Linked DNA regions of Homo sapiens: all the other regions are linked to region 1. The links are contacts of gene promoters, found by promoter capture Hi-C in blood cells and fetal thymus (Javierre and others, 2016). All regions are on one chromosome and are shown on one strand. The core of a region is centred on a gene start or on the middle of the fragment in contact, and the rest is flanking DNA. Distances in the headings are between cores, read along the strand shown. Region 1 holds the start of RHOB (ras homolog family member B). Region 2 overlaps LDAH (lipid droplet associated hydrolase). Region 3 has its middle 18 kb from the start of SDC1. Region 4 overlaps PUM2 (pumilio RNA binding family member 2). Region 5 overlaps PUM2 (pumilio RNA binding family member 2). Region 6 has its middle 17 kb from the start of HS1BP3-IT1.

Region 1 (4,738 bases), core at 585-3,084:
CCAGAAAATTCCACCTGCGTTTCTGAGCATTCGGGTTAATTCCCCACAGTCATTTACTGATCCTTGTAAATGCCAGGCATTGTGCTGGGTCTTCAAGATGCGGAGATAAGACAGAATCCTGGCCCTCCAACAACTGACAGAGACCGAGACAGAGACGGAGACAGGAGGCAACCACCTCCCGGTCATGTGGTGGGTCCCTCCTTTGCTGAAAAAACAGTTTGCAGACATTTCCCATGCAATGGATAGACAGAGCCCAGCCCATGCTGTTAATACTTTAGCACTCATGAGCCCCAGCATATGCAGCTCCTAGAGTTTGCCCCGCTCCTTCCCACCTTCCTGCTTGTGTTCAGGCTGTTTCTCCTGCCCGGGAGCCCTCCCCGACTCCCCTTTCCCCCTATCCCCTTCTTCCTCTTTTATCCGTAGAAATCGGTTGACTTGGGTCTTTCCGGATCACCGGTACTGTCATTTCATGCAGGATCTACAGGATAAATGAGTTCAGTCCTGGCGTGCATCAGGAGGCTACGCCCCAATAGAGGGGACACCCCCTAACCCGCTGTGCCCCATTTGCTAGCCCCTTACTCCTCCCCTCTTCTCCAGCCTCAAGCCTTTTCGTCTGCTCAGGGGTCTTGGGGTGGTTGGATTCTATTGAACCCGGAATATTGTACGTTCTATTGTACAATAGTGTATATTCTATTGTACATTCTATTGTACAATAGTGTATATTCTATTGTACATTCTATTGTACAATAGTGTATATTCTATTGTACATTCTATTGTACAATAGTGTATATTCTATTGTACATTCTATTGTACAATAGTGTATATTCTATTGTACATTCTATTGTACAAGTGTATATTCTATTGTACATTCTATTGTACAATAGTGTATATTCTATTGTACATTCTATTGTACAATAGTGTATATTCTATTGTACATTCTATTGTACAATAGTGTATATTCTATTGTACAATTTATCTCAGACAGTTCTCTGTTTTAAGAACCGGGATCAGAGTTCATAGTGAAAAGAGGGGCCGAAGGGGCTTCTTCCTGTCCGGTAACTTCCTCCAAGTGTTCGAGCCTCGACCTTCCCTTTCCGTTGTCAAGCTTGGGCCACTCCGCACCTCTTCCCTTAATCTTCACCTAGAGACCTAAGCTGGGGGTTGGGAAGGGTAGGGGCGGCGGGACTTGGAAGAGCCAGTTTGCAGCCAGCCGGTCGCCTCTCGGGTCCAAACCCGAGGCTGGCCCACGGCGAGTACCCGGGTGGGGCCCTAAACCACAGGAGGGGCCACCTCCAAAAGAAAAGAGAAAACACTCTTGTTTGGGAACAAAAGTGTGTGTGTGGGGTGTGTGTGTGTGTGTGTGTGTGTGTGTGTCTGTTTATTTAAAAACAAAACCACGTTAAAAGAGCTGCCCCTCCCCCACAGGCCCGACCACCCGCCGGGAGTTTGCCAGGAAGAGGGGCAATTCTGAATGGGAGTCGCCAACGCCCCACTGAGTGAAGCCTGTCTCGGAACCGCTCGCCCAGACCCTGGAGGCTCCAGACAGCCAGCTCCCGGACCCCGCGCGCAAACGCTGCGGCGAAGGAGGGGACCCGGGTACCGCCAGAGCCCCGCAGCGGCAGCAGCAGCGCGGACTCCCCGGTCGCTGCCTCTCCCAGCCCGGCGGCCTGGGCCGTCAATCAAGCTGGCCCTGCCCCGCCCTCGGGCTGCAGGGGGCGGCCAATCAGAGCTAAGCTCCGCAGCGATGAGCTCAGCCGGCTGGTTTCCCATTGGACGGCTATATTAAGAAAGTGGCCGGACTCTTTAAATAGCGGGCGCTAGGGCCGCAGCCCTCATCTGCCACCGCAGTCTGGTTGGAGCTGTTGTCTTGTATGCTCAGCGAGGCCCGGAGAGACCCGGGAGAGAGCTAGGCCGAGTCCACCGCCCGAGTCTGCTGCCCGAGCCCGCGTTACGCACAAAGCCGCCGATCCCCGGCCTGGGGTGAGCAGAGCGACCACCGCCCGGGAGCAGCGCGGCGAGACGCACGGTGCGCCCTATGCCCCCGCGCCCCCACCGCCCCCGCCGCGGCAGCCGAAGCGCAGCGAGAGAACGCGCCACCGCGGGGCCCGGGTGCAGCTAGCGACCCTCTCGCCACCTGCGCGCAGCCCGAGGTGAGCAGTGAGCGGCGAGCGGGAGGGCAGCGAGGCGTTCGCGGGCCCCCTCCTGCTGCCCGGGCCCGGCCCGCTCATGGCGGCCATCCGCAAGAAGCTGGTGGTGGTGGGCGACGGCGCGTGTGGCAAGACGTGCCTGCTGATCGTGTTCAGTAAGGACGAGTTCCCCGAGGTGTACGTGCCCACCGTCTTCGAGAACTATGTGGCCGACATTGAGGTGGACGGCAAGCAGGTGGAGCTGGCGCTGTGGGACACGGCGGGCCAGGAGGACTACGACCGCCTGCGGCCGCTCTCCTACCCGGACACCGACGTCATTCTCATGTGCTTCTCGGTGGACAGCCCGGACTCGCTGGAGAACATCCCCGAGAAGTGGGTCCCCGAGGTGAAGCACTTCTGTCCCAATGTGCCCATCATCCTGGTGGCCAACAAAAAAGACCTGCGCAGCGACGAGCATGTCCGCACAGAGCTGGCCCGCATGAAGCAGGAACCCGTGCGCACGGATGACGGCCGCGCCATGGCCGTGCGCATCCAAGCCTACGACTACCTCGAGTGCTCTGCCAAGACCAAGGAAGGCGTGCGCGAGGTCTTCGAGACGGCCACGCGCGCCGCGCTGCAGAAGCGCTACGGCTCCCAGAACGGCTGCATCAACTGCTGCAAGGTGCTATGAGGGCCGCGCCCGTCGCGCCTGCCCCTGCCGGCACGGCTCCCCCTCCTGGACCAGTCCCCCGCGAGCCCGGAGAAGGGGAGACCCGTGTCCCACAAGGACCCCACCGGCCTGCCTGGCATCTGTCTGCTGACGCCTCTGGCTTGCGCCAGGACTTGGCGTGGGCACCGGGCGCCCCCATCCCAGTGTCTGTGTGCGTCCAGCTGTGTTGCACAGGCCTGGGCTCCCCACTGAGTGCCAAGGGTCCCCTGAGCATGCTTTTCTGAAGAGCCGGGCCTCAGAGTGTGTGGCTGTGTGTCTGTTCGACTCCCCTCGCCCCATTTTCACCCCACCCCCGCCTCTGATCCCCGGGGGCGAGATTGGCGCGGGAGTGTGGCCGCGCCCCATCAGATGTTCGCCCTTCACCAGCGGGAGCTTGATATCCCTTGTCTGTAACATAGACCCCGGGTACTGCGGGAGGGGAGGGCTGCTGGGGAGGATGGGGGGATGTTATATAAATATAGATATAATTTTATTTTCGGAGCTAAGATGGTGTTATTTAAGGGTGGTGATGGGTGAGCGCTCTGGCCCAGGCTGGGCCAGACTCCCGCCCAAGCATGAACAGGACTTGACCATCTTTCCAACCCCTGGGGAAGACATTTGCAACTGACTTGGGGAGGACACAGCTTCAGCACAGCCTCTCCTGCGGGCCAGCCCGCTGCGAACCCTCCACCAGCTACCGGAGGGAGGAGGGAGGATGCGCTGTGGGGTTGTTTTTGCCATAAGCGAACTTTGTGCCTGTCCTAGAAGTGAAAATTGTTCAGTCCAAGAAACTGATGTTATTTGATTTATTTAAAGGCTAAAATTTGTTTTTTTATTCTTTGCACAATTGTTTCATTGTTTGACACTTAATGCACTCGTCATTTGCATACGACAGTAGCATTCTGACCACACTTGTACGCTGTAACCTCATCTACTTCTGATGTTTTTAAAAAATGACTTTTAACAAGGAGAGGGAAAAGAAACCCACTAAATTTTGCTTTGTTTCCTTGAAGAATGTGGCAACACTGTTTTGTGATTTTATTTGTGCAGGTCATGCACACAGTTTTGATAAAGGGCAGTAACAAGTATTGGGGCCTATTTTTTTTTTTTCCACAAGGCATTCTCTAAAGCTATGTGAAATTTTCTCTGCACCTCTGTACAGAGAATACACCTGCCCCTGTATATCCTTTTTTCCCCTCCCCTCCCTCCCAGTGGTACTTCTACTAAATTGTTGTCTTGTTTTTTATTTTTTAAATAAACTGACAAATGACAAAATGGTGAGCTTATGATGTTTACATAAAAGTTCTATAAGCTGTGTATACAGTTTTTTATGTAAAATATTAAAAGACTATGATGATGACATTTATAAAATGGCTCTTGTGGTTTAATAGTGTGTAAAAATACCCTTGTGAATTTGGAACAAGGGAGATATTCTCCTAGGCGAGATCCTTTCTTGCCAACTCCGTTTCCCTTATAGCAAATGTAGTAAATGAGGATGAAGTCCCTTTGAGAGCATGTGGGGGTTGGGTGACCAAGGGAGACCAGGTTGTTCCTGTCACATTCCTAGAGGAAGATGAGTGGATACCCCGACACCCAGTGCAAAAACTTTTGACCTATTATGTACTCAGTTCAATTGGGTGAGACCGAAGATCTTGATTTCATTCATCTGTGTGTCTTAAAAACACTTGTGTCTTTAAGTCTATTATGGGGCTTTGCTTATTCTTTGAGTCTTGGAAAGTTATCATTTGTGCATTTTAAATTTAGAAAACCTTTATTAATCGTTGGTGTGGGGTCACGCTATCAGGAAGCCTGTTTACTGGGTTCCCTTCAGGCCATCAAGGGGTTTACACAATATCCCAGGAAGTTGTAGGTTGTTATCTTTGGGCCTGGAGCTTCCAGAAGT
Region 2 (4,738 bases), core at 1,512-4,011, 250 kb after region 1:
TTGGAATAGCTGTATGAGGCTACATACTATTATTAACCATTTTATTGATGAATAAAGGAGGCACAGTGAGGTCCGGTAACTTAAGCAGGGTCATGAACAAGGGTGGATTTGGTGTTTGAAGCTTGGCTGAGACTCTGGGAGCCCAGCTCTCCAGCACGTTTGCCTCCCCTCAGTCACCAGGCTCCACTGCAGAACCCCAGAGTGTGCTCACACAATTGCCCAAATAAAGCTTTCAAGGTCACAATATTGAGATAAAAACAAACCTATCTATTTTCAGGATGATTATGACATTCTGGACAGGCTTTAAATTAAACAGGCAGAACTAACACAATCCGTTTCAGAATACCGAGGCTTGGCGGAAAGGCAGGCCTGGTGAGCTGGTCCAGGGAGCATTTCCTATGCTGCAGCAGGCAGGACATGTGCATGTCAGAAGGATTTGCATGCCCCAATCTGCAAACAACTGCACAAGGTTTGCTCCCAAAGGCAACACACACCTTTGGGCTAAGGCAGGCTAAGAGGGATGGGGAGAGAGCAATAGCAGAGGAGTTCCTGTTCTTGAGGACACTTGCCCCTTTCCCAAGCCACACTGTAGCCCTGGCCTGGCCCTCTGGGGGCAGGGGCAGCACCACCTTACAGGCAGCCCCCCTACCACTGCCTAACTTCATCTGAAAGCTGCACTTCATGTGTTCTCTTTGGAGCAATTTCAGATTCCTACTTACTGATAGTGATGCTCAGATTCAGTCTGGCAGTAGCACACACCAGCTGTTTCCGTAAGCCTGGGCCAAACGTGGTCATGGCAGTTTAGAATTCCCCCCCTAAGTGGGTTTGAAATGAAAACTTCAAGTTTATAAACCAAACATGAGTTCACTTTTCAATGAATGAGACATGCATCCCTTATGGCTTAGAACAGTGACAGAACAAGGGAGTGCTGACCTCTTATTTGCCTCTGACACACCAGGTGCCTCATGAAACAGAGAATACTCCAGAGGTTTCCAGACAAACTGGGATTGGGGTGGCGAAAACGCACAGTTGATTCTCTTCCCTTGGTTTATTTCATCCTGGTTCTCCTTCCCACCCTTCTTACCTCCCCTCCCATCTTATTCATTCAGTGGCTCCTCGTCTTCCTCCCAACCCTTAAGCTGGGTTCCCTAATGATCAATCATTAGAAGTCTTCTCTCCTTATTCTGTATACTTCTTTAGGCTGCTATTACCCATGCTCTTGGCTTTAACTACAGCCTCATCACTCCCCAACCAAAAGTCAGCCTCAAATATCTTTCTAAGCTTTACACCCATACATCCAGGGCCTGCCAGACACGGATCCACTTGCATGTCCCACTGGCATCTCAAATACAAGTACCAAAATGAACCACTTGTTCAGCCATCTCCCATAACTTGCTGCTGCTTCTCTTCCCATATTCCCTGTCTTATTACCAAGTCCAGATACAAAGAAATAATCTTAGATTCCTCCATCTCCATTCCCCAATATCCTGTTAGTACTCAGTACCTTTGATTCTATCTCCTAAATCTTTCCATCTTCAATCCCAATGCCTTAGTTCTTATAAAAGCTTTGTAAACAGGCTCCCCAACTCATATTTCATCCTTTTCTAGTATTATACCACACATTTGCCCTCAAGATAATCCCTCTCATTTGTTAATCTCACCAAATTCCTAGGGCTAACTGATATGAACTGGTGCCCCTGAACTGGCTGTTCATAGCTGGCATACATTCTGATTGGTCAATCCCTATATCACATGGTTGTCAAATGTTTTGACTGTCACCCTGTTACTCCCATGCTTAGACCCTTCAATAGCTCCCCAAAACAGTCTCTTCAGTGTGGCATATCATGACTTTTTGTTCTCAGGCCAGTGCCTAAGCCACAACATCATGCTACCTAACCTTTTCTAGTTTCTCTAACGCAGGGCTTCTTTGCTTGCGGTGTACAGGTCCAGAGGTTTGGAGAAGGGGTTATGTAAACTTTGGAAAAATTTACATGTTTACTTTTGTTAATCTCTAACCAAAATTTAGTATTTCTTTCAATTAGGAATACAGGCAACAAGCTACAATATTAGTAATGCCTATATTTTGTCATCTATAAAAATGATAAGTATTTTTAAATCACACTAACTTGCTCAAGGTAACTAAAACATTATACTTATCATTACAAATTAAAAAAAAATTCTGACTGCTATTATATCTCATTATCCAACAACTTCTTTCTTTTGTAATCTTGTGTATTTTATGCACTTAACATCATTGTGAGTAGAATCCAAAAGCTTTATGAGAGAGCGAAAGAGATGCATGGCACAAAAAAGGTTTAGAATCCACACTCTAGTTAATGGCGTCCCCATCTATCCATCTGTCTAGCACATATTTACTGACTGTTTACCAGGTATGAATTATGCTAGGCCCTAGGGGACATCAAGACGAAGAAGACACAGCTCCTTACCTCAACGTGGGGAAAGGTGAAGGTTGATTGTTTAAATACTGTGTGATAAATGCAATATAACTTTACATAGGGAGTAACATCTAACCAAAACCAAGGACTGGGAAGGCCTCTTGGGGATGACACTAGACAAGCAGGATTTAGTCAAATGACAAAATAACCTATAGGCCGGGCGCAGTGGCTCATGCCTGTAATCCCAGCACCTTGGGAGGCCGAGGCCGGTAAATCACAAGGTCAGGAGTTTGAGACCAGCCTGACCAACATGGTGAAACCCTGTCTCTAGTAAAAATTAGCTGGGTATGGTGGCGGGTACCTGTAATCCCAGCTACTCGGGAGGCTGAGGCAAGAAAATCGCTTGAACCCGGGAAGTGGAGGTTGCAGTGAGCCGAGATCGTGCCACTGCACTCTAGCCTGGGCGACAGTGCAAGACTCTGTCTCAAAAAAACAAAAAAAGGAAAAAGAAATAACCTATGATGCCATAAACCATGGTATACTCCTTTGGAAACAACCATGAGTCTGTTATATTTGCTCCAGGAAAGAAAAATTATTTTAATAAAATAAATTACTTTATGTCCAATACTGTGTATAAAGTCACTGGACCTCAGAAGGAGGATAATCAGCTCAACAGATCTTTTAGAGCTAAAAATGCCCATTTTCCTCAAGCATATAAAAAGCTCTCTTCTTGTGTCAAATGGAAATCCAGTGGTAGAAAATTTGGATTTAGAACCAAAGCCTGTAGATTATGGTATGATAGTTCTCTTGGGGAGGAGAAAGAAGTAGAATGCTGTCTGCATGATACAGTAGAAAGCTTATTTTTAGACTAACTTTCCTGTGGCATTCTGGCTGGATGGCACAAAGATATATTTTTCAGAACTATTTTTAGTTGAATAGCTGAGATACAGGAAATGATTTTTCAACAAAATGTGTGGCTTGATGACTATTCACACTGGACAGTCCTGGATAGTTCTGAAGTTTCTGAACGCCTTTGTTTGGGTGGAAATGGGAAAGAGTATCCTCGATTAAGATACCTAAATAGGAATATTTCTAATCCCGGGCATTGGTTTTAGTTTGACCAGTTATCGGGGGTGTTTGGAAGGCAGGAAGCAATGCCCACTATCTTCCTAGAACTATGTGCACTTTTAAGTTTCCTTATTTTCTCAAGCAGACTGGGACATATGTTGATTCAACTTCTACCAATATTAAATTACAGCATGTTTCCTCTTTTTATTACAGAAACAAAAAGTTGCAATAAACTTCCTGTCTCTCTGTACCTAGTTTCACTTAGGAGCTGTAATTGTATTATTCTAGTGGAGAGCTTGAATTTTGCTGGTAGAAAGGATAATGAATTAACTGCAAGGTAGTTTTGCATGATTAAATGAAACAATGCTTTGTTTCCCCATATTCTAGAAGTATATTTAATGCTATCTCAAAAACAAAACTATTGCCTGGAGTTGAAAAAGTTTATTCCTGTGACTGTGTGTTAATACTAACCTTGAAATGTCTACCATTTACCATTACACCCCCGTATTTCCCCATAAAATTTCAGTAAACTTACAGTCCTGACATAATTACCATGAACAGCCCTCTATCTGGGAATGATTACACTTGCATATGGATTTCACTTGGGACAGGAATAAGTTAGCACCTTTCTTTGACCTTTTTCTGAGCACAACACACAAGCTGAATCCAGAAATGATGAGTATTTTACAGCAGCTGGCTTCCACAGGTGGTAAAGCAGACTCTGACACATGATGGGTCTAGTTGTTCAGCAAGTGTGAATTTTGGAAGTGAGCATCTGCCAGTCTTATTATTAACTGAGAGTTGAGCTGTTTTTATGAACTCCCAACCTGGAAGAACTTAAATGCATTTTTGAAACAGATTCACTTACAGTTTAAATGGAAAATAAAATACTGTTTTTCTTGTATTTTCACATCGCTCAGTGACTGGAAGTAGCTGAAAGCCCTGGAGAGGGGGCCCTCCTGAGGCCCCAGCACTCTCCCTTCGGCTAGTGAGGGCTTCCTTCTGGTTTCCAAATTTCAATCTCTAGCCAACTGCTATTTCAGAAATATGATGACCACTATGGCCATGAGACAAAACAACACTGGCATTTTCAAAAGTCCTCTCTGGGTGAATATTTTCAATATTCTAAAAAAAAAATTTTAAGAACATATACACTTCTCGTTTTAAGATAATTGTACTGGGAGGTTATGGAATTAAGAATTAACAATGTAGAAAAGTTTAAGTCAAATGTATCAAGGTTTATAAAGACATTCTAAGTCCAGTGGGTTATCTCG
Region 3 (4,738 bases), core at 868-3,367, 200 kb before region 1:
ACCTTTGTATCTGATGACACCAGGCACAGTGCTCAGAGTAGTGAATTCATAGGCTGCCACCTCAGAATATACCCCTGCCAGGTTACTAAGCAGTGTCGACTTCCCCACAAATGGAAAACCAACAAATCCAATTCAAGCATCACCTGTCTCGGCCACATCAAAACCTTCTTCTGCACCTCCACCACCACCACCACCCTTTGGAGTAGTGAGTTCTCGACGAAGCTTAGCAAGACGAGCCTTAAGCAGCCCCAGGTGGTGTGCTGTGGCCTTGTTGAGTCCAAGCCATCTCCTCTTCTGTCTCCGCGATCTTAGCTAGGGTGCTGCTCATCGTGGCGAGTACCCTGTGGCCTCCACACTGACTGTCTCCCTTCACACACCCGCGGGCAAACTAGCTCAAGTATAATGCTTTTCAAAAGTAACTCAATGAACTTGGGAGTGTAGGCCTCGGTACAGTGGCCCACAGACCCCTGAGAGCACCATTGTGTGACAGCTCTTCACCGAGAGACACCGCCTTTAAAAACGCGTTTAGGGCCGGGCGTGGTGGCTCATGCCTGTAATCCCAGCACTTTGGGAGGCTGAGGCGGGCAGATCACGAGGCCAGGAGTTTGGGACCAGCCTGACCAACATGGTGAAACCCCGTCTCTACTAAAAATACAAAAATTAGCCAGGCATGGTGGCGTGCGGGTGTAATCCCAGCTACTCGGGAGGGTGAAGCAGGAGAATCGCTTGAACCCTGGAGGCGGAGGTTGCAGTGAGCCGAGATTGCGCCACTGTACTCCAGCCTGGGCAACAGAGCGAGACTCCATCTCAAAAACAACAACAACAACAAACAAAAAACAAAACAGAAAAACGCGCTTACTTCCTACTGGCTTTACAGTGGTGAGCATTACCTAAGCACCTAACTTCAGGCTTTGGGGTAAAGAGAGAGAAACACACAGTCTGGCCTTCCAACAACTCACAGTGTGGGTGGAGAAACGTAAGAAAACAAGCCATTGCAATAATTTGCCATCACCGCCATCATGACCTTGTGCCTGGAGGAGCTGTCCCTGGAATCTGTCTAGGGAAGCTCCAGGGCTGGCTCCAGGAGACGAGGAGGAACTGGCTGGCCAGAGACAGGGGCAGTAGGGTTGTCAGATTTAGCAAATAAAAACAGAATGCCCAGTTAAATTTGAATTTCAGATGAACATTTTTTTTTAGTATAAAATGTATAATTATGTCCTATGCAATGTTTGGGATTTATTTATACGAAAAAATTTAGTCGCCCCACCTGTGGCTTTAGGGCCGACTTGTTCAGGAAGGGAAGAGGAAGAGCACAAGAAGGTTTGGTGCAAGAAGATGGGTTCGGTTCCGGACATGTTTGGCGAAACGGGGCCAGTGGCCACGTGACTGGAGATGTGCGATTCCAGGCTGCAGGATGTCAGGGCTCGGGCTTTAGGGGCGAGGCCTGGGGTCCGCGGTGGTAGGATGTTATGGGAAGTGCCCTGTGATGAGGCTGCAGGCGGTCGTACATGGCAGTTGAGTGGGATGGGTAGAGTTCTTTCCTTGTTCGAGAAGGCAGGGTGTGTCTGAGCAATCCTGTTTAGAAAGATCAACTCCAAGTAATTTAGACGAAGAAACTTCTGGAGCTGGACGGATCCCCCAGGGTGCGCCGCGCCTGGACTGGGAAGGGCCCCCGGACCCGCGGCGCAGGGGAGGGCCGGGCCGCCAGGGGGCGCTCTCGGCGGACGGGGCGGGGGTCCCCCTTGGTGTCTCCCAGGCAGCTTCGCAACAGCCCTGCTGGATTAGGCCCCAATGAGCAAACTGAAGCCCGGGTGGGGAAAGGGCGGGGGGGGGGGGGCTTGAGGGCGTCACCCAGGCGGGTCAGTTGCTTTTTTAAAAAAAATTATTTTTATTTTTTTTATAGGGAAGGCAGGGGCATCTCGCCATGTTTCCCAGGCTGGCCTCGAACTCCTGGACTCAAGCGAGCCTCCGCCTCGGCCTTCCAAAGTGCTGGGATCACCACCGCGCACAGCCACTTTTGCAGCTTTCTAAGGCCGCCCCCAGGCCCTTGCCACCCTGCTGCGTGAGCCAGGCTTGGGCCTGTGGGGAGGGCTCTAGGTCACCTGGTGGCTGCCGTTGTGTCTACAGCTGCCTCTTCCTGTGACAAAGCTGACTCTTTGTCTTCCAGGTCCCTTCTCTAGTTTTCTACCCTACTGTAGAAGAGGGTGGGTAATGGAATATAGATGAAGCTGTCACCCTTCCAAACTCTGGGGGGTGACCCCCTCCCTCCTCTGCTCACAGGTGCCTTCCAAGCCCAGACTCCAGTGCTCAAACCAGAACTGACTTTTGAAGGAGCAGGGCAGAAGAGGACTCCCAGACACCCCTCCTCTTCTCCAGGGCGAGCCCATACACGTGCTTTTGTCCTCATCCCTGCCATAGGAAGGGGCCCACCAGGTGTGACCCGGCTTTCCAAGGCTTCTGGCCATAAAAGGCCAGGGGTGGGAATAAAGCAAGAAAGAGATGAGACTCCGCCCATGTCTCGGGGAGCCCCTCAGCTCTGTAACTGGCACTGCTACCTCCCCTGCCTCCAGTCCCTCTCTACTGCTGCTCTGCCAGCCTGTGCTGGGTCCTCCACACCACCGCACTTGTCACTCACCTGCTCAAGAATCTGTGATGACCCCTATTGTTAACTGAAGCATTGCTTGTATCAAGAATCTCATTCTGTTTCTCCCTCCACTGGGGTGTGCACCTCTTGAGGGCTGTATCCTCAGCATCAAGAATACTTGACACAGGCCGGGCACGGTGGCTCATGCCTGTAATCTCAGCACTTTGGGAGGCCAAGGTGGGCGGATCACTTGAGGTCAGGAGTTCAAGACCAGCCTGGCCAACATGGTGAAACCCCGTCTCTACTAAAAATACAAAAATTAGGCTTAGGTGGGCATGGTGGGCCACGCCTATAATCCCAGCTACTTGGGAGGCTGAGGCAGCAGAATCGCTTGAACCTGGGAGGTGGAGGTTGCAGTGAGCCGAGATTGTGCCACTGCACTCTGCACTCTAGCCTGGGTGACAGAGCAAGACTCTATCTCAAAACAAACAAAAAATGAAACCTGACGCAAAGTAGTTGCTCAATAAATAAGACTATGAAAATGCACTGGCTGCTGCACCCACCTTGCTCTCAATCCCCCAAAGCCATCCCCTCATCCTCTTCATTTTACCTTTCCCTTCCAAGCCCAAGGCACTGATTAGTTTTGAAATCTTGATTCCTGTCTAGATTTAAAGGCTTTGAGTTAGGAATTACTTTTTTTCCCTCCCGCCTAGGACCTCATGCCTTCTCAAAAAATAGGTAAGACCAGCCAGACACAGTGGCTCATGCCTGTGATCTCAGCACTCTGGGATGCTGAGGCAGGAGGATCACTTGAGTCCAGGAGTTTGAGACCAATTCAGGCAACATGACAAGACTCTTGTCTTTACCAAGAAATTTAAAAATGAGCTGGGCACGGTGGTGCATACCTATTGTCCCAGCTACTCAGGAGGCTGAGGTGGGAAGATCGCTTGAGCCTGGGAGGTTGAGGCTGCAGTGAGCTGTGATCATGCCAGCGCACTACAGCCTGGACGACAGAGTGAGACCCTGTCTCAAAAAACAAAACAATACAAAAGATAAGACTGAATGTTCTCCATATGGTCCTATTTGGTCATGGAATGATTTGTGGTGGATTTTCCTCCACTCTTCAGCATTCCTTCCATAACCTGTTTCTGGCCATGAGCTACATGCTGTTTACACAAAAAAGATATGATCCTGAACTGGGTGGAAGGCTTCTGCTCAACTGCATGGGCACCAAAATGTGTGCTGAGGGAAATCACACATGATCTTCTCAAGCAGCTTTTGACTTCCCTCAGGATCCTAGATGACCATGTTCATAAAGAATTATTGGCCAACATCCCATATCTTCTGACTATGAAGGTGAAAACGTGTGCTTTGCGTAGAGTTGGATGAGACCCTTGTTTCTGATTTCTAAATACCTACTGCTTTGAGGAAGCTTCCATCATCCTAACTTCGTTGTCCAGGCAGAGGTTGAGAGGGAAAGGTTTAGAAGGCTAACAGGCAAATCTTTCTCAGTTCAATGGCTTCCTTGCTATAAGCCAAGTTGGCAGAGCTTTATTAAGGAGTGTCACTGTGGCTTCCTTCAAACTTGATGCATCAGTTGGATGGACCCTTATGGAGGGCTCTTCCTCACTTGGCTACAACTGTGGCTCAACTCTCAAACAAAGCAGACATTTAGAAATAATTTGACGTAACTATTTATTTATTTATTTATTTTGAGATGGAGTCTCACTCTGTTGCCCAGGCTGGAGTGCAGTGGTGTGATCTTGGCTCACTGCAACCTCCGCCTCCCGGGTTCAAGTGATTCTCCTGCCTCAGCTTCCTGAGTAGTTGGGATTACAGGCGCCTGCCACCTTGCCCAGCTGATTTTTGTATTTCTTTTCTGAGATGGAGTTTCACTCTTGTTGCCCAGGTTGCAGTGCAATGGCTCGATCTCAGCCCACCACAACCTCCATCTCCCGGGTTTAAGTGAGTCTCCTGCCTCAGCCTCCTGAGTAGCTGGGACAGGCATGCACCACCATGGCTGGCTATTTTTTTGTGTGTTTTTAGTAGAGACAGGATTTCTCCATGTTGGTCAGGTTGGTCTCAAACTCCCGACCTCAGGTGATCCGCCTGCCTTGGCCTCCCAAAGTGCTGGGATTACAGGTGTGAGCCACC
Region 4 (4,738 bases), core at 567-3,066, 160 kb before region 1:
AACTATATCATAAAATGGGGTATTTAACACTGTTAAACATTAATAATTTCATCATAGAGGTAAGAGAAGGACTGTGTATGTTACTTGTATATGTGTATACAGGCACACAACCATATTATGTTTTAGAGCTCATGTAAGTATGTAATTGCCATAATGTGAAAAGGCAGTGTGCAAACTTGTAAGAGTCCATATATATAGCACTTGAAAAAACTCCCACAAAATGCCCAAGAGGAGAGATACGATGGACTCTTTACTGGCATTCAGGGGTGGCAATCACTAATGCTCTCTAAAGCAAGGTAAAATGAAGCTCTTACAGATTGGAGTCAGAATTAAGTAAGCCATGCTTGTAAATAATGGAGGTGTGAAGGTTAGTTTTGGGGAAACAGGGCATCTGTAGTGGACAAAATGTTCATGTCAATCAATTCCTGAAAGGGGGAAAACAGCCTTAACTAAGAAACAAATGGAAATTTGAAAGAATTGAGTAGGGGCCTAGAAATCTGAACCAGACGATCAGTGACATACTACGTGAGAAAGGAAACATGGGGTTTAATCAATGCTCTCTTTTTTCTGAATTATTTAGGGCCTACAATTTATAATTTAAAAACTATTTCCACAAGTTTGTTTTTTATGTTACTTGTTCTTCCAGTTTTCCTCAGAATATTTAGGATTCTTTGGAGAAAATGTCCCAATTGTGTTAGAAACAAGGAATGAGTCCTATGGGAGTGCGTGAGGTGGACAAAGAGATACACAACTCCAAAAGCAATGAAAAAACTCAAGTACAAAATTGAAAAGATTTAACAATCCCCATGTTCACTGGATTTTCCCTCAGAAATTCTTATGAGCAGTCTTCAGATAATTTTGTGTCAGTCCAATATGACATCCACTTATTGTATTTCATTACAATAAATGAAAAAAGATTCTGCCATCTAAAAGTTTGTGGCTGTTCTAGACCATCCTTCCTGTATATATGAATGATAAAAGTTCAGAAGACACTCCCTTAGAAAACTGGCAAGCATTGTTAATAATGCCTGGCATGTGTTAGTTCTGCCATTTTCCACACCAGAAAAGAATATAATTTGATGTGGTAAGAAAAGAGATCAGAAACAGATATTAAGGACTGTAGCAAGTTATGTTATAGAAACAGAAAATCTCTTGAGGTCCAAATAGTCCTATCCTCATGAAGTAAAAGCTGCCAGCTGCACCGATAGAACTGGGTCAGCTGTTTTTTCCCTAATGTTTCCTGAGTACTGTGGAAACCTCACAGAAAACACCAAGTGTATCAACAAGAAGTCAACGTGGGCCTCTTCTGATTTCACTTAGTTCTTCCTCTACCACAGGATCCAGGAACCAGTTTGAGTGGGTCAATTATTTAGTGAAGCTATTTAAAATTTTGATTTGTTAAGTGTTATATAAAGCTAAGATACATGAATAGATACCCTTTTAAGTGAATTTTTAGTGACAAAGGCTAACTTATTTAATCTAAAAGATAACCATACTGGTAGCTTCTTAGGGGATTCTGTGTAGAACATTTCAGTATTTATACATACACATATGTATTTTTTATATTAGGCCAAATTTAAAAACTGTAATAAACTACCAGCATTTAATAAGAATAAACCATCTAATAAGGACACAAAGATAACTGCTTTAAAATACCAAAAATTTAAGACGGCAAAATATTTGCCTCCACAAACATTATGTAGTGAATGAAGATGAGCTAATAATTAGTGAATAATATATTGACCCAAATAAACCCTACTAAAACAAAAATTACAGTAATCAATTCCTAGAGCCAGGGAAAAAGGAAATGTATTATATATGAGTAAAGAACAGGCTGCCTATAGTGAGTTAAACATTGGTGAGTGTTGAAAAGATTTGCAGGATTTTTTTTTCCTACAAATTAAACCAGTAGTCCAATACTTTATTCCTGTCCTTCCTATCCTACATGCTATTATTGCTTATTTTAATGTTAAACACACTCATATACCTCTTCCACTTAGCAGAGTACACTCATCGTAAAAACAAACTTACCTGATGAACCAAATCCACTGAGGGCTGAGCCTATAGCAGCACCCAAAGAGTTACCACTTCCAAAGCCAAGAGATGTACTTCCAGGTTGACCAGGTCCATGAGAAAATAAAGAACTACTCTGGGAGCTATTAGTCAAAGAACTGCTTCCATAAAATGAATTAGATTGCAGATTAGTGCTTGGCTGCTGTTGCTGCTGCTGTGGTGGCTGAGTGCCAATTGGCCGAAACAGACCATTTGTGCTGCCTGTAAGGCTACTTGCAGTTCCTCCAGCTGCTGCTGCTGCTGCTGTAAAATAAATTTCAGATACTTCTTTAAACCACCCAGAAAATTCTGTATTTTAAAAATGGTATCTCAACACCAGAAAAATATTATCCTAAAAATGTCAGTTACACTTACCAGCTTGTGCTGCTGCTGAACTAATTAAAACAGGTGTTGGAGCCATTAACCGAACTGGAGCTCCAAGGCCAGTCCTTGCTCCAGGGCCAACCACTAAGGCACCAGTCTGATCATAATAGGCAGTTGGAGCTAGTACTTGATAGCCTAAATAAAATAAAGGTTTACTAATGAAAGCACTTATTACAAAAACATGCATATTTGTTTTTCCCTGCATTTGTATTTTTTCAACTAGACAACACAGCTATTTGTACCATTACTATAAAATCCTTAGTTAATATATGCAAAGCAACACATTTGACAAGGTCTTACTAAATATATGAAAAAGTAATAGACTGTCATTAAACATTTTTTCTCTAAATTTTACTCAGGGGCCACAAAATGAAGAGGTATTTTCCTTAATATAGAAACTACAGGCTATGAAGGAAGGGCTGATATTAGAAAAAAAAAATCACCATTTAGCCCTTCGAAGAAGAAGGATTAAAAAAACTGGGAGTAGCGAGGTAGAACACTGTACGAAATGTTTACTGTGCAATTTCATTGAAGTTCAAAATCAAGTGCCTCATTACCAGCATTCCGTTAGATTTTCATTTGTAATCATCTCTTTAAAAACTTAAGCCAAACATTCTATTTGTGAAGATTCTCAAGCTAGAGTTTAATTAAAAATCACACAGGCTTTAGTTTTATTGTAGCCTTAAGCACAAGGTAGGTAATCTTCACAAATAGTGGAGAATAAAGTTAACTTCTTAGCAGCCTTTCTCAATGGAGATTCTCTGTTGAACCAAAAACACAGAAAATGATTTAAGTAAGTATTTTGTTAATTCTCCTAAGGATGGTATATAACAAGCATCACTCTGGAATCACAGGAGAGAAGTTAGCTATATACACTGTGGATACTTCAGAGCAGTAATAAGGCTTTATTCTTTTCTGGAACTCAGTTTAGAAAGGCTGCCTTATAAAGCGACAAAAAACTGAGGCCCAATAACCTTACAACTATCAGCAAAACATGCATTGGCAACTTTTTTTTCCCTTAAAGAGTGCTGTCTTGCTCTGTTGTCTAGGCTGGAGCACAGTGGCATAATCATAGCTCACTGCTGCCTCAAACTCCTGGGCTTACATGATCCTCCCGCCTCAGCATCCTAAGTGGCTGGGACTACAGGTACATGCCACCAGGTCCGGATAATTTATTTTTATTTTCTACAGAAATAGGGCCTCACTATGTTGCCTAGCCTAGTCTTTAACTCCTGGGCCAGCGATCCTCCCGCCTCAGCCTCCCAACTGTGTCTGGTCCTTTAAGAAGTTTTTAAAAACACAGACTATACTGAAATACATTCCAACATCAATTTTTAAGTCTTATTTTGTTAATACTATGCAGAAGTGAGAGTTACAGTAAAATTAGTGATAATGCAGCATGAACATTTTATTGCCTTTAAACACAGTAGGCTAAATTCAGCTCAAATATAATAAACAGTGCTCAGATAAACACTTCACCTGTAAGACACACATGCATAGGTTGTTTTTAGTAAATACAGTAATTCTGATCAAGAATAAGCATTAGCACGCTGCTAATAAAATATCCACATTACTAGTAAATTTCAAACTGTACATGCCAGTCAATAGTCTTAACTGGTATGTGTGGTCTAGTCCTAAATCCAAGGCACACAGAAAACATTCTTGTTCAAAAACATTGTCATTTACTTAACATCTGAATTTGAATTAAAAATAAAAGTAAATCCATTTGGACATTTGGCTATAAACACTCTACTGACAAATCAAACAGCACTTAACTGCTCCTTAACTAAATTTTGCGTATATAAATTCCCAGAGAGGAAATAACCCACAGTCAACTCAACTCTGAAGTCCTGTTCATTTACCTTCCAATCTTTCTCAAATCCATCCATTCTCTTGATGGCTACTTTCCTGTCCAACCAGATTATATGGTCTGCCCTTGCTCTTTTGTCCCATGTCTGTAACACATTCTCCACAGAGACTGTGGTCTGAGATTGATATAAAAAGATATCAATCCACACTCTTGCTCCAAACCTTCCAAAGGGTTTGAAATGAAAAGCAAAGCTCTGAATATGGCCCACAACATGATCTGGTTGGTTCCTGGCTGTCTTTCTAGTTTTACCTGGTACTCATGTACCTTTTACGTATTGGGAAAAATGGGGGTTCAAACTCCTCAGAGGCACCACGATTCCCCTCAGCACAGGAGTTTGGTGCATTCTGTTCCTCTGTCACAGCATGATATTTTTTCCCACTCTCATTCTCTACTTAGCTTAATTTTTCATAAATTCATCCATTTGACAAATAT
Region 5 (4,738 bases), core at 1,348-3,847, 140 kb before region 1:
AATACACACATTAATTTAGGGAGAACTGACATTTTTATAATGCTGAGTTTTGCCCAGAAAAATCACGTCTCCATTTATTCAAGACTTCTGGAAAAGTTTACAGTTTTCTTTACAAATGCTTTGTACATCCTTACTTACTCCCTAACTCATTCCATAGCTTTTCATTTCTCCTTTACATTTCCCATGTCTTGATTACCATAGGGAATTTCAGTGTTCTGGGCGACCATCTACGTTTTATATCCTAATTCATTTAGCGGTAGGTGATAGCCAATTATGCAGCTCACCTAGAACTATTTTTTCAATGACTTATTTACAAGACCATGAAATGGCTCCTTTTCACAGCAATCTGTTGTTTTAAGACTTCTGATAATCTCTGATGGCTCACACCCTTTATCTCTTAAGGTTCTGAAAATACTCTTACATTCTTTGCACAACTTTAAAGTTCCCTTCCATAACTTAGAACTCTGCGACATGTTTTCTGGCTGATCCTTCTTTGTACTGTCATTTTTGTTTGAAACATTATCTTACATGAGAGTTTCTCTTGCACTCACTTGTTCATTATGTGGTATCAGAATTATTGCCTAAACTACATACTATAGGGTCAAATCTCCAAACCAGGTCTTTTATTAGTAGCTGGGGGAGCTCTTACATGGTTACTACAACTCAACCCCCAAAGCCTGAACTGCATAGGCCCCTTTTTGTTTGTTTATTCCTCTTCTAGCCATCTGTAGGTCACCTGGCTTTATTCCCAATTTACCCCCCTATGGATTCTCCCTCAACTCCTTGTACTCTAGGAACTCTCCAACCAACTACATAACCCTGTCTTTTTGTTTTCATTCTATCCTATCTATTATTTCTGTCTGGCCAAGTACATGGGTTAAGCCTGCGTCTTACCTATTTTTGTACAAACTAGCTAAGAATAGTTTTAATATTTTTAAATGGTTCAAAAAAATAAAATTCAAACACATGAAAATTATTTGAAATTCCTATTTCAGCACCCATAAGTAAAGTTTTACTGGAACATAGCAATATTTATGCATCATCTAATAACCATTTTCATGCTTTACCAGCACAGTGGAGTGGTCGTGACCAAACCCATATGGTATGCAAAGCTTTAAATATTCAACAGCCTTTTGTACAGAAGACATTTGTCAACTCACACTCTAAAAATTTTCCACATATAGTCACTGTGCATTTAAAATGTGACTAGTTTGAGATCAGCTATATTCAAAGCTGACTTGAGATCAGCTATATTTCAAAAACAATATAAAGAAAAGAATGCAAAAATTCTCATTAGTAAGTTCCATATTGACTACATTTTGCAATATTTTGGATATGAGCTAAATAAAATATTCAAATTAATTTCACCTATTTTTTAATTTTTAAAAATGTGATTACTAAATAACTGCAAATTATATGGTACATATTATACATATTTCTATCGACTAGTCCTTTTCTAAATGAGCTATTGGCCAGCTAAGAGGTGACCAGGCAAATTTGGATAAAAAAGATTGTCAATAATGAATTTGCTTAACTGTGGAATTGAGTTAAAATGTGGGGTCAATTTTGATACACTATGCTTTCTAGGTTTTCAAATTTATTTATATTAGGTTTCTCACACATGAAAGTTCTGCCACATCTTTAAAGATTACGTAAGTCCAATATTATTAAAATACTCTAAGGCATTAAAATAAGAAAGAAATGGCTGGGCGCAGTGGCTCATGTCTATAATCCCAGCACTTTGGGAGGCTGAGTCAGGTGGATTACTTGAGCCCAGGAGTTCGAGACCAGCCTGGACAATAGGGTGAATCCCCGTCTCTACAAAAAATTCACTGGGCATCATGGCTCGAGCCTATAGTCCCAAGCTATGTGGGAGGCTGAGATGAAAGGATTGCTTCAGCCTGGGAAGCTGAGGCTGTACCACTGCACTCCAGTCTGGGTGACAGAGTAAGACCCTGTCTTCGAAAAAAAAAAAAAAAAAAAAAAAAAGACGTATCTAAAATTATTTTTGTGAAGCAAGAATGCTGACACTAAAAAACGTGAAAAAACTGCAGATACACAGAGACTAATTTCATCTAACTATATAGATGCAAAAATCCTAAATGAAATACTAGCAAATTGAAAGAGTATGTTAAAAGAAATAATTATTATATACAAGTCTTTTTTATTCCAAGAATGGGAAGACGATTCAACTATTTTAAAATATCATTCATGAAATCTGATATATGGTACTTGAGTTTTCATAGATAACACTTTAAAGCTACAATGAAAGACAGGAAGAAAGCCATTTACAATAACAAAACATAAAATACATAAAATAAACTTAGAATGAAATATGCAAACCCCTATGAGAAAAATTTTAAAGCACTCAAATGACACTACAGTAAACTTGAACAAAAATAAAGACACATCACACCCTGGACAAGAATACTTGATGTCAGCAGGGCACGGTGGCTCACGCCTGTAATCCCAGCACTTTGGAAGGCCGAGGTGGGTGGATCACTTGAGCTCAGGACCAGCCTGGGCAACATGGTGAAACCCTGTCTCTACAAAAAATTTGCCAGGTGTGGTGGCGTGCACCTGTGGTCCCAGCTACTCGGGAGGCTGCGGCGAGAGGATCACTTGAGCCTGGGAGGCAGCAGTTGCAGTGAGCCAAGACTGCACCACTGCACTCCAGCCTGGGTCAAACAACAAGACCTCCTTGTCAAAGAAACAACAACAAAAACAATAACAACAAAAAAAACCTGATGCTTGATGGCATAAAGATGTCAAATTTCCCTAAGTAAATTACAACATTTAATCCTATCTTCTGGAAGTAGATAAGCTAATTTTGAAGTTCATACAAAAAAGCAAATAAGCAAGAACCAAAAACTTAAAACCCCAAAAAAGAAGAGTAATAGATGTATTAGCCTGCCTAATAATATAAAGCCTCGAGAAATAAAAACCGTTGTGCTGTCCATGAATAGACAGGTAGCAGTACATTTCTAACATAAGAGGACAAACAAGGGATAAAGCGGGTGGGGAAAAAAGGAAAGAGAGGCAAAAAGAGGAAAGAAACGGGGCCAGAGTACATGCTGCGACTGGCACTCACCTATAAATGTGGACTTTTTTTTTTTTTTTTTTTTCTTGAGCGGAGTCTCTCTCTGTCACCCAGGCTGGAGTGCAGTGGTGCAATCTTGCTTCACTGCAGCCTCCGTCTCCCAGGTTCAAGCGATTCTCTGCCTCAGACACCCAAGTAGACGGGATTACAGACCCCCACTGCTAAGCCCAGCTAATTTTTGTAATTTTGTAGAGACGGGGTTTCACCATGTTGGCCAGGATGGTCTCAAACTCCTGACCTCAGGTGATCCACCTGCCTCAGCCTCCCAAAGTGCTGGGATTTCAGGATGGCGCCACTGTGCAGCCTGACATTTTTGATGAAAACAAAAAATAGGCCAGACGCGGTGGCTCACACCTGCAATCCCAGCACTTTGGGAGGCCGAGGGGGGGCTGATCACCTGAGATCCGGAGTTCAAGACCAGCCTGGCCAACATGGTAAAACCCCCGTCTCTACTAAAAATACAAAAATTAGCCAGATGTGGTGGCAGACGCCTGTGATCCCAGCTACTCAGAAGGCTGAGGCAGGAGAATCTCTTGAACCCAGAAGGCGGAGGCTGAAGTGAGCCGAGATTGCCCCACTGTACTCCAGCCTGGGTGAGAGTGAGACTCTCTCTCCAAAATAAACAAACAAAAAAACTGAAAAATAAAAATTAGGGCTTAGGAAGCCTTATTGCACTAACACAGAAGAATATGACATTAAGGAAAGACAACCCCCTTCCATAGACTCTGATGTTGACAGTCTTCATACAAACTTAGACAAAATCAGACAGGCATAAAAATGTTTACACAAATCTACACCTGATAAAATAAAATAAAACTATACATACATACTGCATCAATATCATATTACTGTTTTTGATACTGTACTGTAATAATTTAAGTGTAGCCATTAGGGGGAACTGGGTAAAGGGTATAGGGAAGTTATTCCCATATTATTATTGTGGGAGGTAGTGGGGAGACCTAGTACAGACAACATCATGTACCAAGCTTGAATTCTAGCAGATTAAAAGTCAAAGACCAAATAACTTCATGGAAAAAAATATTTTACAAAAAAATGTAAATGAACATACTGACTTGATAATGGACACAAGTAAATTTGAATTTCCAAGTGTCTGACTTTCTCAACTTCACATTGGAGAAAAACTTATGTGATAATAACTTTTATCGAATTACAGATTTTTATTTAATTAAACCAGTGATGCAAATAATAATCAGAAACAATTCCCTAGTTAATAAACACCTTTGTCATACAACCTATTACTTGTTGATCTCAGATGTTTCAAAAAGTAACAAAACCTCACCAATCAGTAAACGAAAAGTGAAACATCCTAGACATTTTAACAAGACTTTGGTCAAAATGAGAACGTATGAAGACTCACCTATATGTGGCTGCTGAGCTGCTGCTAATGCATATTGCTGCTGTTGAGCTGCAGTTAACTGTTGAACTGTTAGTGCATTAGTCCTCTGAAAGAGCTATTAGGGAAAATATTTAACACAAAGATTAGTGTCAAAATCTTTCATTTCTAATTAGAAATCTGAATAAAACATTTTAAACATTTTTTCTTTGGGAGGACTTTCTCAAATACAGGACACTTTAATCAATAAAACATTTAGTACTCAAAAACCCCTACCATTCTTT
Region 6 (4,738 bases), core at 785-3,284, 130 kb after region 1:
TCAGCTGATATCTCATTAGGGAGCTATGGGCTTCCCCTTCCTGTTCAGCTACTAGTTTAAGTTGTTTTCCTCCTTCTGGTCTGCAAGGAACAAAAACAAGTAATTTTCTCATAAAAATAACAATTAGCAAAGCCCGGAATCCAGACAGCCTCCGGTCAGGACCATTCATCGGTGCTGACCTCGAGGTAACTTCAGACTCCTTGTGAGACACAACACCGCCATCCCCACCAGGACAAGGAGGGCCAAGCGCTTTGCTGCCCTGCATGGTGGCCTGGTTGGTGACTGCAGCAGTGTTTTCAGGGACATAGAGAATGAACAGGAAGACCAATGTCAGAAACAAAAGCTTCTTGGACACTCAACATGGTTTTGAATGCCATAGAGAATGCAAAACTAGGTCCTTCCTGTGTGGGTTGCCCTCAAAAACCCAGGGAAGTGTCATGTTCACAGCAGGGAAAACAATTGCACTGATTAATTGTGCTTCTGTTGATGCTGCGGTTCTCCTGACTTCTGAGTGCATCACAGTGAGGCCATCTGCCAGATGGAAGCGCTGGAACAGACAGCTTCTTGGAGCAAACTGCAAGGCTCGTGAGACTCAAAACAAGCCTGTTAGATCCCATTTACTAAATGGCCATAATCAAAGAACAAGCTCTTAGTTATCTAGCAAGGCGCTCTGGAAATAGATGAGCATGCAAAATCACAATTTATGAGTTCAGCAATTTTTCTTTTTCTGCTGAAGATATTAGCCCATGAAAATCTTGTAGTGTTTGAGGAGATTCAGTCAATTGCTAACTTTCTGCAAGTGTCTTATCCATGGCTGCCTCCTTTTTCCCACCACTGCGAAGGGCCCTAGGCTTGGCAAGCAGGGTTGAGCTGGACTGGGAGAGGAAGACCTGGGGCATACCTCATTTCAGAGCCCTGGAGGGCCAGGGGATCACTGGGAAGGAATGAGTGCTGCATGGCCAGGAAAAATGAGTGACTGTATAGCAGAAAGCATGGTCAGCCTCGGTGGATGAGATGACAGTGACCTGGCCAGCCCCACTCAGTGGGCACCTGGCTTCCCCCAGCAGCACCCGGGCAGGCAGTGCTGGGCAAGCCTGGCCTCCTGGACACCTCACAGGGGTCTGCTTCCTTATCTGCTGTGTCCACATTGGGAGCCAATCCTGTCCCTGGATCAGGGCAGCAGATCCACTGAACTGAGCTAGGAGAGAAGTCGGGACCCTGGGTTCAAGTACCAGCATGGTTATCTACTAACCGTGGAACTGTGGGGAAATCAGGGGTCCTCTTGGAGCCTCAATCCCCTCCTCTGCATAACTGGGATGATAATGTTGGCCTTACTTGGTTTTTGCCAGGATTAAATGAGAACACAGGAGTGGTTGTTATTACTGGCGTAAAAAGAACCATTTCCTAGCTCATTAATGCAGACAACGTAAACGTCTGGATGCCTAAGGACAAAGCCCGGGACTTTTCTGCACTTGCTACTCACCCCCATATTGTTGTTGGGCATTTGTTTGGATTTCTCTGGAACTTTTGGAACAATGGGCTCTGGAGTTTTGTCCTGTGGTCATTCACACCCTCAAGGGAAGCATTTGCTGAGCTCTAGGCCTCGTTCCAAGGGTGAGGAGCCTGGTGGGACATTTACCTGAATCAGGGCCGCAGCCTGGACAGGCAGGGCTAGGGACAGGAAGGCCAGAGACACATAGTGTCAATCCCTGAGCCTGGAAGCCCTAGTCCAAAGCCTCCTGGGCTTATTTCAACCCATCAGCTGACTCTGACAATCAGAAAATACCAAAAAGGGCCCACCCCTTCCTCTCTAGCTCTGACACTCCAAGACCCTGTTTGGTCTCAACATGCAGCCCAGTTCCCTGGCTGCCCAGCCACACTCTGCCCACATATTTTAGACTCCCAAAGGGTAGTAAGTCCCTCTTGCAGCATCCCTGGAGGCCCCGCCACATGCCAGGTGAGGAGCCAGGCACTGGGGAGAAAGCCACAGTGTGCCTCCTGCCTCCTCCCCTCTCCAGGTTTGTGCCTCAAGGCCCGGCATTCCTTATCCACGGGCCTGGCCCATGTGCCTGGGCTCTTCCACACGGGGGCCTGGCAGCAACGCCTCTGTCTCCTTGGTTCCACCCCCCCCCCCCCCTTCAGGCTACCCCAGCAAGGGAGGACAGGAGCAGCTGGGAAATTAATTTACAATGTGAGTGACTGTTAGGCCCTGATACCCACACATGAGGAGTTGCTTTTTAAAAGGTAGCTATTTATAAAAATGAATGCTTGAGAAGTTCCTGACAGGCAATGGGGGAAGGGGACTGGGGAGGGGGACCTGAAAAACCTGTCCCACCCATTTCCATCTTTGTTTTGTTTTGTTTTGTTTTTTGAGACAGGGTCTTGTTCTCTCCCAGGCTGGAGTGCAGTGGCATGACCGCAGCTCACTGCAACCTCAATCTCCCGATCCTCCTGTTTTAGCCTCCCAAGTAGCTGGGACTACAGGTATATGTCACCATGACTGGCTAATTTTCTTTTAGTTTTTGTAGAGATAGGATCTCACCGTGTTGTCCAGGCTGGTCCTGAACTCCTAGGCTCAAGTGATCCTCCTACCTCGGCCTCCAAAGTGTTCTGGGATTATAGGTGTGAGCCATTGCACCCGGCTATGTGAGGTTTCTTTCTGCTCAATCTTTGCCTAAGTTGTTTCCTTCATATGGACTCTATGTGTTCCTCCTCTTTTCCTGTCCTCAGAGAACCAGCTGGAACCTCACCTCCTCTGAGAAGCCTGCCCAGTACAGCTCCTCCTGCCACTGAGGGCTTAGCTCAGGCGTCCCGTTTTCCATGCTTTGCAGTCTTATCTCCTCTCTGGCCTGAGACCTCCCTGAGGCTCTAGTCTAGAGCCTGAAAATATCAGAGGAGGGCTGGAATCTGCCACATTCTAGCTACACGACCTTCTCTCTAAAGTGGGAACAGGATCGCCTCCCTCATTGTACTGTAAAGTGCCTGGCATATGGCAGGTGCCAACAAATACTGCTACCCCCAGAAGTTCTGAGAGAGACGGAGGCCTTGAATGGTACCCTTAATGGGGCCCACAATCTAGGGACTTTTTATTCCACAACAGAAATGGAAGTTGACCTGTCACACTGAGTCTACACTATTTCTTGGGTCTTGCCTGCCTCCCGGAAGCTGAACTTATCACCAGAGGGACTATGCAGGCTGAAGTTTCTGTTTCTGTTTCGGTTACGTATAGAAGCAGTTGCTTTCTAAGAATTGAAGGACACCTAGTCATATCCTTTTGGTCAGTGGCAAACAAATGATGGGGAACAGAATTCCCACTTACAAATCTTTTCCCATTGGGATGTCTAGGATGGATGGTTCCTGGGAATGCCCTGGGAATTTACCTGGGAAGAGTATTTACAAGGAAATTTATGGGAGAATTTACAAGGGAATTGCCGTTTGAGTTGGGTTTTCAGAGTAAACAAGGGCTTGTCACTGGGCCTAGATGGAGATGTGGGGTGGCCCAGGGCAAGTGAAGGACTTGGGGTTCCAGGGAGATTAAGGACTGGGGGCATGACACACTGATATTCATGTACAATTGAGTTAATATTTCCGTATCGGGGAGGGCCTGGGAGCTGAGTGGGGAGAGGGTGGGAAAGGGGGACCCTCCTGATGGACCCAGGAGGTTCAGTCCCAGCCCAAACCCAGCCCTTCAGAAAGACCCAAGGCTAGTAGGCCTGGACTCCTTAAAAAGCTTCCCAACCATTGGCTGGGGAAGAGCATGATTCTTGGGGTTGTTTTACCCCAAGGGCCTTGTCCAGGGCTTCCTTTGAAACAAGTGCAGCGATCTCCCAGAGAGAAGTTCTAGACCATGCAATCTTCCTGTCTCCCTGCATTTCCTGTGACATGTTAGCGGCTTGGAGGTGTCCCCCCAGCTCCACCAGGGGCATAGGAAGAAAGAGCCTCCAGGCCCAAGGTGAGGGGCACCTCCCAGCACCGCCATCTGGGAGCGTAAGAGTGCCTGTCTGTGGCTGCAGCCTGGGAGGGAGAGAGGGTCCAGAGATGGAGGCAAGCAGAGGCCAGACCAACTCAGGCCGGGTGCATGAGCTGGAATTGCCAGGCCTCTGAACCTCAGGCTAGGTCGCATTCTTGGAGCAGCAGATTAAAGTATGAGGGGGTATTGTCTAAGCTACACTCCCCGGCACTGGGGCTGGATGGGGATTGGGCTTCCAGGGTTCTGTTATACTGATCAGATCAATGATTCATATGCTGATGTATCAGAACCACCTGCAAACACATTTCCAGGCCTGCCTCAGGGCACTCGTTCCTCAAGCCTGTCCAGTGTGACTTCAACCCCCTTCACAGCTGAGTAGGTTGTGGCCAGGGGCCATGGATCTGCAAAGACTGAGTAACGTGCCTGATGTCTCATCATGATCCAGCCGGCTGGGGACCTCTGGCATGGAACACTCCAAGCTGCATCATGTCCCCTCAGGCAACTTGCTGATCCCTGGCAAGGGGTGCAGGAAGCAGGCTCACGTGGCTGTGCCCTTGAATCAGGGCTCGGGAGAGTGGCACAGGGTGGGGGTGGGAACAGCCTCTCTTGACCAGTGCCTAGCGTCCTACCTGTGGCTCCTAAGTGGCTCCAGGGCTGCCCTCAGAGGCGGGATGGGATGCAGTCTTCATAGGAGGGGACTTGGTCTCCATGGTTTTCAGGGCAGAGCCCCACACCTATTACCTGGGCCCTGAGGCTCTACCCTAGCAT

The links. Contacts are between HindIII fragments. The CHiCAGO score rates a contact against its expected background, and 5 or more counts as called.
Region 2: a contact is called between a fragment that was not itself captured here and the fragment with the promoter of RHOB in region 1, in 1 of 17 cell types (naive B cells). The highest score is 7.2, in naive B cells.
Region 3: a fragment that was not itself captured here is called in contact with the fragment with the promoter of RHOB in region 1 in 1 of 17 cell types (neutrophils); the score reaches 5.5 in neutrophils.
Region 4: a contact is called between a fragment that was not itself captured here and the fragment with the promoter of RHOB in region 1, in 1 of 17 cell types (neutrophils). The highest score is 6.3, in neutrophils.
Region 5: a contact is called between a fragment that was not itself captured here and the fragment with the promoter of RHOB in region 1, in 1 of 17 cell types (neutrophils). The highest score is 5.2, in neutrophils.
Region 6: a contact is called between a fragment that was not itself captured here and the fragment with the promoter of RHOB in region 1, in 12 of 17 cell types (endothelial precursors, total B cells, naive B cells and 9 more). The highest score is 27.3, in endothelial precursors.

The regions. Positions count from the first base shown.
Region 1 is chr2:20,445,240-20,449,977 of GRCh38, forward strand. RHOB (ras homolog family member B) reads left to right here and starts at 1,835. Exons shown (of 1, transcript NM_004040.4): 1 at 1,835-4,201. The coding sequence starts at 2,227. The coding sequence ends at 2,817. RefSeq lists silencers at 1,544-1,793, 2,044-2,253. The HindIII fragment of the contact is 3,675 bases long and covers 1,104-4,738 here.
Region 2 is chr2:20,695,798-20,700,535 of GRCh38, forward strand. The region is part of intron 6 of LDAH (lipid droplet associated hydrolase); the gene reads right to left. Among named protein-coding and RNA genes, the nearest start is that of GDF7, 31 kb to the left of the region's middle. The HindIII fragment of the contact is 978 bases long and covers 2,273-3,250 here.
Region 3 is chr2:20,240,719-20,245,456 of GRCh38, forward strand. It overlaps the pseudogene DRG1P1. Among named protein-coding and RNA genes, the nearest start is that of SDC1, 18 kb to the left of the region's middle. RefSeq lists silencers at 417-563, 1,598-1,827. The HindIII fragment of the contact is 3,794 bases long and covers 221-4,014 here.
Region 4 is chr2:20,280,916-20,285,653 of GRCh38, forward strand. It overlaps PUM2 (pumilio RNA binding family member 2), which reads right to left. Exons shown (of 21, transcript NM_015317.5): 11 at 2,428-2,571; 12 at 2,032-2,316. Among named protein-coding and RNA genes, the nearest start is that of SDC1, 58 kb to the left of the region's middle. The HindIII fragment of the contact is 9,280 bases long and covers 1-4,738 here.
Region 5 is chr2:20,303,500-20,308,237 of GRCh38, forward strand. It overlaps PUM2 (pumilio RNA binding family member 2), which reads right to left. Exons shown (of 21, transcript NM_015317.5): 7 at 4,479-4,572. Among named protein-coding and RNA genes, the nearest start is that of PUM2, 45 kb to the right of the region's middle. The HindIII fragment of the contact is 2,974 bases long and covers 1,111-4,084 here.
Region 6 is chr2:20,573,638-20,578,375 of GRCh38, forward strand. It overlaps a transcript of HS1BP3 not described here. Among named protein-coding and RNA genes, the nearest start is that of HS1BP3-IT1, 17 kb to the right of the region's middle. RefSeq lists enhancers at 1,527-2,027, 3,135-3,274. The HindIII fragment of the contact is 3,387 bases long and covers 342-3,728 here.